5 separate regions of the Homo sapiens genome follow, and regions 1, 2, 3 and 4 are each linked to region 5. The links are contacts of gene promoters, found by promoter capture Hi-C in human tissues and cell types (Jung and others, 2019). All regions are on one chromosome and are shown on one strand. Each heading gives the region's core, a stretch centred on a gene start or on the middle of the fragment in contact. The rest is flanking DNA. Distances are from core to core; before and after follow the strand shown.

Region 1 (2,700 bases), core at 18-2,517, 870 kb before region 5:
GAAAGGGCAGTGGAGGAACCCAATCTCTGTACATTACTGGCCTGGCAGGAAGTGGGTGTAGACAGCAGCTGGGGCTTTGCAGAAATTGAGGCTGGAATGTGAAATGGGGCAGGGCTGGGGTGTGGAGAGTTACCTAACTGTTCCTGAGTACATGCCACGGGCTCCCCAGGCAGAGGGAAATGGCCAGCATTAGCCCTGCCTTCTCCTTCTGGATCCAACTCTGTGAGGAGCCCAGAGCAAGGAAGATGTCCCTGAGAAGATGTCTGATACTGACCAACATCTACTAGCCTAAAGAGACCCTGGGTTAGCCCAGAATAGAGGCCCACTGTAGCTCAGGGGTGGGTACCCAGGATGCCCCAGGAGTAGGGGACCTAGAAAAGCCCTAGGCAGAATGGTGTGGGCTAGCCCAGCTGCTGGGGCCGAGGCTAGCCCGGGGTTGGTTTCAGCCCATGCAGACCCCCTCAAGGCTGAGATGTGGCCATGTGGCCATGTGGCCATGCTGCAGCCTCAAGCTGATGGTTTCTTCAGAGAGAGTCATGGATAACAGGGTCTCTCCCTTCCTGGAGCTGAAGCTTACAGCTCCAGGGGGGACCAGGAGAGCTGAAGGAGAGTATCCCTCAGATGCACACAACCCTTGACAGTCCCTATGTCTCATTAGATCTTCCCTCTAACCACATAAGGAGGGGAAGGCAAACATTAACGGCCCCATTTTATAAATGAAGCAAGTGACGTTCAAAAGATGCCATCTGTCCTCTTCTTGACTGTGGACACAAAAGAAGGACCTGGGCCTCCCACCCCCAACAAAGTGAATGAACTGTTTACTACACTGACCAAGCCTCAGAATCCTACCCTTTCAGAGCTGGGTAGAGGGGGGTGATCTTTGCAGAATCCTAAGTGTGGGAAGACTGGGGCTCAGGGAGAAAGGGTACCCACAAGGAGCGGTCCTCATTCTCCTGAAACTCCCCCTTCTCCAGGGCAGTGGTCACTGGAGGCCTGGGAGGGTCAGCGGGTTCTACAGGCACTCACTCTGGGCTCCAAGGTCACGGGAGGCCAGCCTCCCTTCCTCCCAGCTGCCTCCTCCTGGCAGGGGACCTCTGGCACACGCTCCATGCCCGCCTGCCCCTCCAGATCTGTCCCCAAGCCAAGCAGGGGACCTCACTTAATCCCAATTATGTAATCTGCAATTTAAACAGTTGGCCCATGAGGAGGCGCTTGGAGCCACGCCCAGGAGTGGGGGCAAAAGGACCCAGCTGGGTCAGGGCTGACAAACTAGGCTTGGCCTCTTGCCTATAGTGGCCACCACTCCTCAAGCCCCAGCCAGCACCATGAGCGGCCGAGTTGGAGACCTGAGCCCCAAACAGGCAGAGACCCTGGCCAAGGTGAGAGCCCCTCCCCCTGGAGTTCCGGAAGACCAGGGGAAAGGGGCTGGGGGGTGGAAAGAAGTGGCTGGAATCCTGCCCCACTCAGTTGATTCAGCATGTCCTTGACATTGTCTCTTTGGTGTTACCTCCCAAAGGGTCAAGCCCCACGGTGCCCAGTAACATCAACCCTGTCCCGGGCGGGGGTTGAGGGACTAGCACCACTTCCAGGCAATAACGTGGGTGGTGCCCACCCAAGTCAAGCCTGACTTCTTCTCATCCAGGAGCCAGAACCAGAGAGGTTTACCTGGCAGCCAGGTACCCCCGTTCCTCCCTCCCAGGCACCATAGGTAGGAGCTGAAAGATGCTGCTGGTCTGCCCTTTAACCCCTTCCTCTTTGGGATCCTGAAAGATGACCAGTCTGTAAAAGCCCAAGAGACAGAGCAGAAAGTGTTGTCTTTCAAAGAGCTAAAGGAAGAAGAGGACATATAATTATTAACCATGTTTTAATAGAAGATGGGATGAAAAAAAGCAGATGTTTTGAGGGCTAACACATGGAGGGAACTAAGAATGCATCCAAACTCCAATCCACTTATTCATCCACCCAATTATTTATCCTTTCTTCTTCTTTTTCTTCTTTTTTTTGAGATGGAGTCTCTGTCATCCAGGCTGGAGTGCTGTGGAGCGATCTCAGCTCACTGCAGCCTCTGTCTCCCAGGTTCAAGCAATTCTCCTGCCTCAGCCTCCTGAGTAGCTGGGATTACAGGCATGTGCCACCACACCTGGCTAATTTTTGTATTTTTAGTAGAGATGAGTTTTCACCATGTTGGCCAGGCTGGTCTCAAACTCCTGACCTCAGGTGATCCACCAACCTCAGCCTCCTAAAGTGCTGGGATGACAGGCGTGAGCCACCATACCTGGCTGTTTATCCTTTCTTTCATCCACCCATCCCTCTTCCTACCCACGCAGCCACCTATCCATCTTTCTTTCTCTCAATCACCCACCCATCTCTCCTCTGTCCATTCACTGATTTATCCACCCACCCACTCTCCATCCATCCATCTATCCATTCATCCATTGATTTCTTCTCCCTTTTTCCATCTACCTACCCACTCACCCATCTATTCTTCTTTCTAACCATTTATTCATCCATCTATCCTCCTTCCATTCATCCACCTATCCAGTGATCCATCTGCCCTTCTATTCAACCATTAACCCATCCTTTCATCAATGTGGGCCATTTTGCATGTGGGAGGAAAGGAGAGGTTGTGAAAACAGTCTTTGAGTCTGGAGGCCAAGGCTCAATGTGAGAGAGCCACTTTAACCAGCATCTCTCTTGCCA
Region 2 (2,700 bases), core at 141-2,640, 660 kb before region 5:
AGGCATGGACAGGGGTGCATCCAACCTCCTCCTTTCTGGCTGCCCCAGCTCTCCTTGCTCAGGCGCCCCAGACCCCATGCTCCCTCCAGCTGGAGCAGCTCAGGCCTCCCTGGCAGCCTCCAGGAGTCCCACCCTGACTCCCCAGACTCCTGAGGGCCTCCTCCCACCCGGGCTTCTTAGGGTGCAGGCCAAGGACCCTCCTCTGGGCCTGGGAGATGTGCTGACCAGGCAGGGTCTATAGGCCTGGGCCAGCCTCTTGGCCTCCCTGTCTGCCTTCACCCAGGCCTCAGTTTACCCCACAGTAAAGTAGCAGTTTGACTAGGGAGGCGCTGTTCCCAGGGCCCTTTCGCAGAGGACCAACCTAAGATCGCTATCTTTCAGAGAAAGTGAAACCTGGTCCCCAACTGTCAAGGCGGCAACTCCCCCTCCCCGGCTTCCCCTCTGAGCTCACAGCTTCCCCATCTCCTCCTTCCCCCATCCCGCCCCCTCGACAGCTAATACTTGGAATCAGACCTTCATCTTTGCTTTTTCCTTCAGAGGTCTTTTCCTTTTATGTCCATGCTGGCAGCAACCCTGTGAGGTGGGCTGGGAAAGGCTTTTCTCCTCCTCATTTTATAGTTGTGGGTCTCTGAGGCCCAGAGAGGTTAAGTGACTTGCCTCAGGTCACACAGCACCTCAGCAGGCTTGAACCCTGGCCTCCTGTTTCTCTTGCTCCAAGTGTCCAGTTCTCCCCAGTGGAGCCTGCCTACAAAGACAAGGCCTGGCTTTGGGGAGTGGGCCTGGCAGAGGGTGCACGATGGGGGAAAGGAGACCGTCGGGAGCCGGGCTGGGGGATGCTGGTCCTGGGGCCTGAACCACAATCTCGGGGCTGCCAGCCTGCGTCTGGCTCTGTGCCCAGAGCCCGGTGGTTTCCGCTCACAGATGTCCCAACAGCCCCGGCGAGAGGGCAGGAAGGGCACTCAAGAAGGAAGATGTCTCGCTCCCCTCAGCCCCCAACCACCGTGTCCTGTGAGGCCAATGGCTCCTGGGCCAAGACTGGCCTGGGGCCTCCAGAGGCCCAGCTCGAAGTCCCTCCTGCCCATCCCTGGCCCAGTTCCCTGAAGATGGCATGGACCCTTTTCCTCCCCACTCACCCTAGGAAGGCTGAGGCTGCGGTTTTACATCATCCTTGGGCGTAGGGCTGACCTCGAAGAACGAATTCGAAGAAAACAGGAGGAGGAGCGGGCATACACCGCGCCCTGCGCCCATTGGCCGCCCGTGGAAATTTTGGTTTTTGGGGTCATGTTCCCAGAAGGCCTGCCCTCCCCCCTCCCCATCCCCACCCACCTCATGAGGTGTTGGCCAATCGCCCCAGCGGGCATAAAGTGGCTGCCAGCCTGCAGGGCTCCCAGCCGAGAGGTGTCACCCCCAGCGGGCGCGGGCCGGAGCACGGGCACCCAGCATGGGGGTACTGCTCACACAGAGGACGCTGCTCAGTAAGTACTTCCTTCCTCCCCGCCAGAACCCGCCTGCTGGGTCTGCCCACGGGTGCCGGTGGGGAGCAGAGGCACCCTCTGCCCTCCGGGAACTGGGGAGGCCAGGCGCCAGGCAGAAGGATGCTGAGAAGGGGAGAGAGCCAGGAGGTCAGGCAGAGAGAGTGGTCCACTGAGAACCTGGCATCTCCACAGGTAGAGAAGGGGCATCCCTGGAAGGCTTCCAGGGGGAGGTGATGTCAAGATGTAGAGGCAACTCTGGGAACCAGGGGGTGAGAGAATAGGATGGGCAAAGAGGCTGGGCAGGAGAGGGAGGCTCAGAAGCTGGGCAGGGAAGTGGTGTGAGGTGTGGAGGGGTTGTGGGGCCTCCAGCTTGCCCGGGATGAATAGAAAGTCAGCCAGGCCTGGGGGCCCCAGGGCCCACACAATCACACAGCATGCACAGCCACACCCACATGGCCACATGCGCACACAGCCATATGACGTCATCTACAGCCCTGGATCTCACCAGCCCAGGAACCCCCACATGCAGACCAGAGTCCCCATGGTGAACGGAACAGGTCTCCCTCACGCCGCACACAGACCCAGATGCACAGCCACACAGAAACCCCAGTCCCACGTGCGCTGCCACAGGCACAGGCCCCTGCCAGAGCCCGGCAGCAGATACCTGGGGAGGCGGCGAGGGTGCCGTGGGGTCGCTAAGCCTGGGTGCCTGGCCCCTTGGCCCTCCCCAACAGCCAGTCTTCCCCAAAGGGCCGGATGGTTCTTAGGACGGGAACGATGGTGTCACTGCCTTCCGGGCCATTGCGCCATAGGCCCCTTCCGACCACGTGGCTGCCGGTGCCCCGTTGGGGGTGGTGGTGAGCGGTAACTGTACCCGCCCCCAACACCTTCTGACAGGCTCACAGCATCCCTGGTGGGCCTGACAGAAGGAGCCACTTATGGAGAGAGGAGGGAGGCAAGAGAGGTCAGGGGAGAGCCCTGGCCTTGTGTGACCTGAGTAGGACCTTCTCCTGAGACTTGGTTTACCTGTCAGGAAAGTGGGGACATGGACTGGAAGGTCTTCCACATCTGTTCCAGGCTGCACCTCTGGTTGAAAAGGCAGCCTCTCCTGGTTCTAGACAGAGCTGAGGACACAAGCTGCTCCCGGGCTGCCTGCCCTGAAGCCCTCTCAGGCCCATCTACCTGGATGGCCAGAGCAGCTGACAAGGCAGGTCCTAGGGCAGTG
Region 3 (2,700 bases), core at 47-2,546, 750 kb before region 5:
AACCTTTCCTATCACTCCCTCATTTCACAGGTGAGGAAACTGAAGTCCAGGAACAGGTTCGGAGCCAGCTCCCCGCTTTCCAGAGTTGAGGAGAGGAGGAAGGAGAGAGGGGGGAATCGCAGGAGAGGGAGAGAAGCCGGCGGGATTCGAGGTAGGCCTCTGGGGAGCGAGCCGCATAGCTTGCAGGGCTGCATCTGTGAGAGTGAGGGGTGAAGCCTAAAGCAGCAGCCCTGCGTGATGGCTCATGCGTGTAATCCCAGCACTTTGGGAGGCCAAGGCGGGAGGATCGCTTGACCCCAGGAGTTTGAGACCAGCCTGGGCAACATAGGGAGACGTCCTCCCATGTCCCTACAAAAAAAAAAATTTAAAAACTGGCCGGGCGCGGTGGCTCACGCCTGTAACCCTAACACTTTGGGAAGCCGAGGCGGGCGGATCATTTGAGGTCAGGAGTTCCAGACCAGCCTGGCCAGCATGGTGAAACCCCGTCTCTACTAAAAATGCCAAAAAAAAAAAAAAAAAAATTAGCCGGGTGTGGTGGGCGCCTGTAGTCCCAGCCACTCGGGAGGCTGAGGCAGGAGAATCGCTTGAACTCGGGAGGCGGAGGTTGCAGAGAGTCAAGATCGCGCCACTGCACTCCAGCCTGGGTGACAGAGCAAGACCTTGTCTCAGAAAAAAAGAAAAAAGAAAGACAAAGAAAGCAGCAGCCTTGATTTGAGAGGGAGGCCCCCAGTGGGGCTTGAGGGCGGGACTACGGAAGGCAGGGGATGGAAGCAAGAAAAGGCAGGTTCCGTGGGAAAAGCGAATTAAGGGCGTAGGATTTGGAAGCGGGGCTTGGAGGATGTGGGTCTGAAATGAAAGGGGGGACTAAGGGAGTAGGGAAGTGGGGCTCTTAGGCGGTGAGCCTGAGGGGACAGGGGCTCTCCTAAATGAGAGACCAATGGGAGGGAGCTGGGCTCTTGGAAGGCGGGGTCGAAGGGAGCGAGGTACTGGCCTGTGGAGTAAAGGAGCCGCGAGGTGAGTGCGGCGGGGGTCCGGCGGGTGACGTACAACATCTCACCTGTCTTCGGCGTCGCGGCTTCAGCCTTCGTGTCTGGTCGGCTCCCGGAACTGCCCCCGGTGCGCCTGCGGCCACCGGGATCCCCGAAAAGCCCTAGCCGGGCGCTCAGGCCGCTGCCTTGGCAACGGCGTCGGACGCCGCGGTGCCCGCGGGGAGGGGCGGGAAGCGCGTCACGGCGAGGGGACGGTCCCGGAAGTGCGCCAGTCGTACCTTCGCGGCCGCAACTCGCTCGGCCGCCGCCATCTTGCGAGCTCGTCGTACTGACCGAGCGGGGAGGCTGTCTTGAGGCGGCACCGCTCACCGACACCGAGGCGGACTGGCAGCCCTGAGCGTCGCAGTCATGCCGGCCGGACCCGTGCAGGCGGTGCCCCCGCCGCCGCCCGTGCCCACGGAGCCCAAACAGGTACCTCTCCCCCGCCCCTCAGCCTGCAGCCGGAGGGTTGGCCTGGGCGCTCCTTACTCGCACAGGAATAAGCGGCCGGCCGCTATGAAGGGCTTGGAGGGACTGCAAGTCCCAAGAGGCTGCGCGCTTCCCGCGCTATGGTGGTGTTCTGGTAGCGAAATGAGCCACCCTGAACGGGATTCTCTAAGTGGTCCGCGGAGCAGCCCCGTCGGCACGAGCCGGGAGCTTCTTAGAAATGTGGAGTCTCCGCCGTAGATCTTTTAAATAGGAATCTACATTTGAACAAAATCCTAAGGTGATTGATTTATAAGTGCGAGAGGCGCTGATCCAGCCCATCCTCTGATCTTATGTAGCAGTTGGGGCCGCCGGCCACAGCCTTTCCCCAGTAATGGCTAATTTCCCAGCCTGCACGGTACATCTTTGGATGTTAATTCTCAGCATCTATTTCGGTGTCTGCCCCAAGCCAGACACCGTGCCAGGCTCCCACATTACCGGAATGAATGGGGCATGGTCCCTGCCTAGGGAGCTCACAGGCTAACGAGAAGACAGACATATGAGAATGCTCACCAAATGTTTGTTGTCCCAATGGCCATCGATGATACAGTGCCAGCCCGCCCTTAATAAAGCTCTCCAATCTCGAATGTGCACAAACCATTGTAGTATGGTGTGATATGCCCTGTGATAGAAGTTTCAGGTACAAATCTAATGAACATTGTTTGCTGGGCTAGAAGGGATATTAAGGTAGGGAAGCCCACAAGAGTGAGAGGTAAATTTCTTTTAGAAGAAGGAATAGGAGTTTGCCAGGTAGGTGACTAGGGAAGGGAAATAGCATCCTTTATTCATCCAGCAAATATTTATTGAACACATACGCTGATCATTGCTTTGGGTTCAGAATAAGGGGGGCGGGGGGGGGGAACATGACTGAAGAAGCCATGCCTTTTCCACAAATATTTAAGTGCCCGTGTGTCCCTGGCATTTTCCCAGGCATTGGGGGAAAATAAGGTAATAGCCAGATAATATGCGCAAAGACACCGAGGTGAATCAAACGGTGTCTCTGATCAAGAGTAAATGAACAAGTGTTGAAGCATAGACTTAGGAGCGTAGTGGCAGGAGATGCGATTCTTACTTAGGATTTGAACTTTTCCTTGTAGACAGTGGGAAGAAAAGGGAGTGTTTTAAGCCAAATAGTGACATTTGTGTTTCAGAAATTCAGGTAGGCAGACGTGTGGAGAATCACTAT
Region 4 (2,700 bases), core at 108-2,607, 990 kb before region 5:
GATCCGCCTGCCTCAGCCTCTCAAAGTGCTGGGATTACAGGTGTGAGCGACCGTGCCCGGCTTCATCTCATTTTTAACTGTGGAATTGCTGGGTTTTAAATTTTAGCTTTAAATTAGATAGTGCAAGTCACATAGTTCAAAACAAGTATTCACCAGTGCTTAACGTCTGTCTCTGTGTAAGTTCTAAGACCAAGTCCTTGGGCCAGGTCACATTCACAAGAGCCTCAAATTTAAACTTTTGAGATCATCTTCGAACGAAATTTGGAATTTGGAAAAAGGGAGAAACGTTTAAAAAAAAAAAAACCTCTTAAAATTGCATCTACTTCCAGACTGCACCATCTCAAGGTGATGTGACTATTTGTATAAATCTTGGAATTATTATTTGAGGAACACTTACAGAATTTATGTGTACAAATTAAAAGCTCGAATATGTTGAATGTACATTTAATTTTATTTATTTATTTATTTTTGAGATGGAGTCTCACTCTGTCGCCCAGGCTGGAGTGCAGTGGCAAGATCTCGGCTCACTGCAACCTCTGCCTCCCAGGTTCAAGCGATTCTCCTGCGTCAGCCTCCCGAGTAGCTGGGATTACAGGCGTGTGCCACCATGGCCAGCTAATTTTTGTATTTTTAGCAGAGACGGGGTTTCACTATATTGGTCACACTGGTCTCGAACTCCTGACCTCAGATGATCCGCCTGTCTTGGCCTCCCAAAGTGCTGGGATTACAGGCGTGCGCCACCGCTCCCAGCCTTGAATGTACATTTTAAATATACCACGAGTCCACCACTAAGGCTCAGAAAATATAAGTGGCCTCTAGGATCTCTATACCTCCGCGAGGAAAAATGTCTTCCTTTTTTCTATTTTAGCCGCATAACCGCGAATGAACCAAAGAGAACCCGAAGCCGGTGGGAACTCAGCGCAGTCTCACCCTGCCCCTCGGGAACCGCTTCTCAGCAGCGGCAGCCGAAGTCTGACGACGCTTAGCAACCGTTACCTTGACAACGCAATCCTATCGCGCACCATGGAGTGCGGCGCCCCTCTGCATCCCAGAAGGCACCGCGCTGTCCCTAAGCCTTCCGCCCCTCTCCGTCCCAACATGCAACGAGGCTCACAGTCAATGAATCGTCATCAGGGTGATTACAGAAAAGCCTGTATATCCACGTTTGTTTTAACACTTAAAGTGTTTGTAACCATTGTGAGCGGGAAAGATCTGGAAAGAGTGTTCTCAGTGATTTTTTTCAGACTATAGTTTTAAATCTTGAGGAGGAAATCCCCATCTTTCCCTGGACTTGTACAGGCATCTCATTGGGCAGCCCGCACAAACAGACAGCGTGGGGTGGGGAGGGTCCTCGGGGTCCTTGGCAGGGCACGTGCGGGAGGAAGTGGAGCTCCCTGTACGCGCGGCCCTAGTCGGCTCCTCAACGTGGAGCGATGGGAGGCCTTGAGAAGAAGAAGGTGATTGGGAAAGACGGTGGGGATTCCCGAGGGGTGGGGTGCGGGGGCGGCAGAGCATGGGGTCGACTCTTTTCCCGGGCTCCGTCTCGTGGAGACTGGAAAGACGGGATCGACGTGACCGTAATCAGCTGCGAGAAGGGGTCCGAGAATGGACAAGGATGGCAGTATTCGTTTAGTGAAATCCGAGAACGAACTCCAGAGTTCTTTCTGTGGAGAGGGCTGTGAAAGAGAGTTGAACTTACCAAGCGTAGCTTCATTCCAAAAGCAGGCCGAGCCGTGGGACCACTATTTACCGAAAGGGTGATAAACATTACGTAGAGCTCACCGTTACTGCACCGTTACATTAGTTGGTTAGTGTTGTCTTGGAAGTTCTCTTCGAGGCATAACATTTCGGCTGAAATGGGAAAGATCAGAACGTCTTGGATGGGTTCTGGGGCATGGGAGTGCTTAGCGAGCAGGCCTGACAAGGGAAACCAAGTGCCAAGATCAGTAGGCAGGGAAGGCTTGCTGTGTGTAAGGAGTTGGAAGGACATTAGGATGACTCGCATGTAAACCAAGAAAAGAATGGCATCTGATAAGATTGGGGTTGGACACGTACTGTATCGTGCAAGGCCTGTAAGCTTGGATTTTATTCTAAGTGCAGTAGGAATAGTGTAGAGCTTGGATTTTATTCTACGTGCAGTAGGAAAAAAAGGAGGAGTAACACGATTAGAGTTTTTCAGGGAGTTCTTGTGGCTGTATGGAGAATCGGCCCAGTGACATGAAAAGACTGGGAAGGGAATGGGAATGAGGAATATATAGTTGGCTTAAGTGTTTCTTTCAGAGTGAAAGTTTCTATTGCCAGTGTTCTTAACCCAACACACTACATTGAGTATCCAGTGCTAGCCATCGGAACTGCAAAGATACAAGATGGAAAACCTGCCCTTGAGTTGCAGATGTAGATATGTAACAAAATCGTTACAGTTTTTAAAAGCTGGGTTTCAGAGCCAGAATCAACAAAGATGAGTCTTTGTTGTGGGAAGGATTGTCTTGTGTGTAGTAGGATATTTGGCAACATCCCTGATCCTTTACCTACTGGATACCAGTAGCACCCAGCAACCAAAAATGTCTCCAAACATTGCTGAACTCTCCTCCCCCCAGCACATACCCAGGGAGTACCCCATTGAGAACTATTTATTCCCTTAACATTTATAAGGATAAGCATGGTGACAGAGATAAGTGTGGCATAAGGTAATGGAAAACG
Region 5 (2,700 bases), core at 145-2,644:
CCTCGGTGACAGAGTGAGATTCTGTCTCAAAACGAAACAAAACAAAAAAGAATTTTCACCAGTTTTACAGAGGAATGGGTTCCTTAAGCTGTCATGCTGGAAGCTGATCTTATCTAAGGCTGCTTTTGTGTTACAATGGTAGAGTTGAAGAGTTGAATAACTCCAACAGAGATTCTCTAGTCTACAAAGTTGAAAATATTTACTATGTGGTCCTGTACAGAAAAAGCATGCCAACCCTTGCTTACTGCTGCCAATGCTGCTGGTCCACAAACCACACTTTTAGCAGCAAGAACTTAAATTACTTGAGAAGCAGTACTGTACGGGCTGTGAGCTTGGTTCAAAACCCCACCTTGCCATTTACTAGATAAATGGGTTTGTTCTGAGGATTAAATGTGCAAATGTCTAGCACTTTGAAAATACTGAACAATTGATAGCTGTTATCATCATGTTGGAAACTATGTGGAAAGTAAGTATGAGATGTTATATCGTTCTTCAAAGGGTTTTTTTTCCCAGAATATGCAAGCTTTAGAAAAGGGAAACAAGTATTGGCTTTCCAATAAACAAGACGCAACTTCTAATACCTGGGTACATAACAATATTACCTAATGAAAGAATAAACTTTCAAGCTTTTAAGCGTAAGCCTAACTTAAGCCTGACACTGAAATCCTGAATTTTCTATCACAGGAGCATCCAGCTTCTTCCAATAACAATGAATGAAAATAACCTTCAGGAAATGCCAAAACCCAAAAGTCCTATGAAAAAAAGCAGCAATCATCTTTAACATGAGGTTTTGGGCCTAGTTGGCCCTTCCGGTTCTGCCCGTCTCTAGCTACACCCATAAGATGATATAAAGAGAACCTCTCGAGCTTCCACCTCGACTGTCACCGCAGCAGTCGGGGCTGCCGGCCGGTTACCTCGCAATTGAACTCCATCTCGGCGTCCATGGTGACGATCCTCACGGTGAACGTCTTGGGTTGCTTCCTCTTGAGAGAGCTGAAGCTCATGCGGGAAGCGATGGCCCCGGCCATGGCGCGGGGCTCAGGCCCGGGACCCTCGCGCCCCACGGCCTGCACTCTGAGCCCTTTAGCCCCCCTGGAGTTGCTGCACAGGCCTCAGGGCCACCATGGTGGCCGGCTGCCCGGCCCGGGAACGGTCTGGGCTGCGCGGGTCCCCAGCGGCCAGCATGGGCCGCGAGGACCCTGCCTGAGCGGAAAGGGGAGTTGGGGGACGGGCCCTGACGGCTGCAGGGAGGGCACAGGAGCCGGGACCTTCGGTGCAGGCGCGACCCGGCACTCCGGGATTCGGGCCGGAGATGCCGGGGACGCCTCGGGACGGGACCCCTAGACGGCAGCGGCCCAGACTCCGCGCGCCTCTCAGCGGCCGACTAGGGTCACGGGGCCGCGCTGCATCGGGCGCGTACGCGCGCGCGTGGCTGTCACCGTCCTCACTCCGCGCGCCCGCGGGAAGCGCACCCTCCCCACAGCCCGGGGCCTGCTCCCGGCCCCGCCCTCAGGTCGCCCAGACCACTACGCGCAGCGCAACCGAACCGGAGGCTGACGCATAGATGCTGCGATTGGCTGGGAAGGCCAAGGTAGGCAGGACTTTCCCGCTCCGTCCCGCCTCCTTTGGGGTGACTCCACCAATGGAAAGTTTCACTCTAACTGCAAAAAAAGCAGGCCTAGGCTCGGCGTTGAGTGGCTACAGTGGCAGTCACTCTGAATGCTTTTGTGCCTACTCTAACAAGACTGGTTGAGGCGGCGGACCTCTGCTGACCTTACCCGGGAAACCACTTAGAGGCTGGATCCGGGGCGAGGGGAATTGGGTCCTTCGTTGGCCCAGGGAGGGACTCTTCGGTTCAAGTAGGCTCCGAGTGTGGCGCCCCAGGGGACTGCGTTTCGGACACACGGCGAATATTCTTCTTTGGCAGTTAATCACATATACCGACCCCTATGAAACTTTAAAGACACTTGTGGAGGCCTGTTAGGTTTGCTGGCACTTTCCCGCCAGATCCCTCTGCTTCCCTTTAGAATTATTATTATTATTGTTATTATTATTATTATTAATTATTATTATTATTGGGACGGAGTTTCGCTCTTGTTGCCCAGGCTGGAGTGCAGTGGCGCGATCTCGGCTCACTGCAACCTCCGCCTCCCGGGTTCAAGCGATTTTCCGGCGTCAGCCTCCCGAGTAGCTGGGATTACAGGTATGCGTCACCACGCCCGGCTAATTTTGTATTTTTATTAGAGACGGGGTTTCTCCATGTTCGTCAGGCTGGTCTCGAACCTCAGGTGATCCGCCCGCCTCGGCCTCCCGAAGTGCTAGGATTACAGGCGTGAGCCACCACGCCCCGCCTAGAATTATTATTGGTTATACCTACCTCGTGAGGTTGTTGAATTTCAGCGCACTGAATACATATAAGGCTTTAGAGCTGAGCCTGGCATCCTATGAAATTGCTGAATTTGGGTTGAAAATGAAAGCATTCTTTATTTTATACTCTATGATGCCCATTTTTGAACCGTATTCATGTATTATTTATTTAGTGTCATCAAGGGTTCTAACGGGTGTAGGGGGGATAATTACACCTTTCTGTACTTAGATAATAAATTCTATTTTAAAATAGCTCTTAGTAGTCAAATAGGGACAATTTACTGTGTTTTTTCGTTTGTTTTTTGTTTTGAGACAGAGTTTCGCTCTTGTTGC

The links. The method cuts DNA at HindIII sites, captures the fragments that hold promoters and counts their contacts. A contact is called where the count stands out against the background at its distance.
Region 1: the fragment with the promoter of SEC14L3 here is called in contact with the fragment with the promoter of NF2 in region 5 in 2 of the 25 tissues and cell types used here (bladder and lymphoblastoid cells).
Region 2: the fragment with the promoter of OSM here is called in contact with the fragment with the promoter of NF2 in region 5 in 1 of the 25 tissues and cell types used here (heart left ventricle).
Region 3: the fragment with the promoter of SF3A1 here is called in contact with the fragment with the promoter of NF2 in region 5 in 4 of the 25 tissues and cell types used here (IMR-90 fibroblasts, dorsolateral prefrontal cortex, lymphoblastoid cells and 1 more).
Region 4: a contact is called between the fragment with the promoter of PES1 here and the fragment with the promoter of NF2 in region 5, in 1 of the 25 tissues and cell types used here (lymphoblastoid cells).

The regions. Positions count from the first base shown.
Region 1 is chr22:30,470,584-30,473,283 of GRCh38, reverse strand. It overlaps SEC14L3 (SEC14 like lipid binding 3), which reads left to right and starts at 1,267. Exons shown (of 12, transcript NM_174975.5): 1 at 1,267-1,379. The coding sequence starts at 1,326. The HindIII fragment of the contact is 19,065 bases long and covers 1-2,700 here.
Region 2 is chr22:30,265,541-30,268,240 of GRCh38, reverse strand. It overlaps OSM (oncostatin M), which reads left to right and starts at 1,390. Exons shown (of 3, transcript NM_020530.6): 1 at 1,390-1,475. The coding sequence starts at 1,442. RefSeq lists enhancers at 1,987-2,086, 2,147-2,226. The HindIII fragment of the contact is 14,267 bases long and covers 1-2,700 here.
Region 3 is chr22:30,355,490-30,358,189 of GRCh38, reverse strand. SF3A1 (splicing factor 3a subunit 1) reads left to right here and starts at 1,296. Exons shown (of 16, transcript NM_005877.6): 1 at 1,296-1,460. The coding sequence starts at 1,398. CCDC157 (coiled-coil domain containing 157) reads right to left here and starts at 1,183. Exons shown (of 12, transcript NM_001017437.5): 1 at 1,058-1,183. RefSeq lists an enhancer at 1-414 and a silencer at 1,350-1,599. The HindIII fragment of the contact is 21,616 bases long and covers 1-2,700 here.
Region 4 is chr22:30,590,567-30,593,266 of GRCh38, reverse strand. PES1 (pescadillo ribosomal biogenesis factor 1) reads left to right here and starts at 1,357. Exons shown (of 15, transcript NM_014303.4): 1 at 1,357-1,457. The coding sequence starts at 1,434. RefSeq lists enhancers at 735-814, 1,035-1,334, 814-1,529. The HindIII fragment of the contact is 28,649 bases long and covers 1-2,700 here.
Region 5 is chr22:29,602,327-29,605,026 of GRCh38, reverse strand. NF2 (NF2, moesin-ezrin-radixin like (MERLIN) tumor suppressor) reads right to left here and starts at 1,394. Exons shown (of 16, transcript NM_000268.4): 1 at 915-1,394. The coding sequence starts at 1,028. RefSeq lists a silencer at 1,049-1,628 and an enhancer at 1,879-2,008. The HindIII fragment of the contact is 17,440 bases long and covers 1-2,700 here.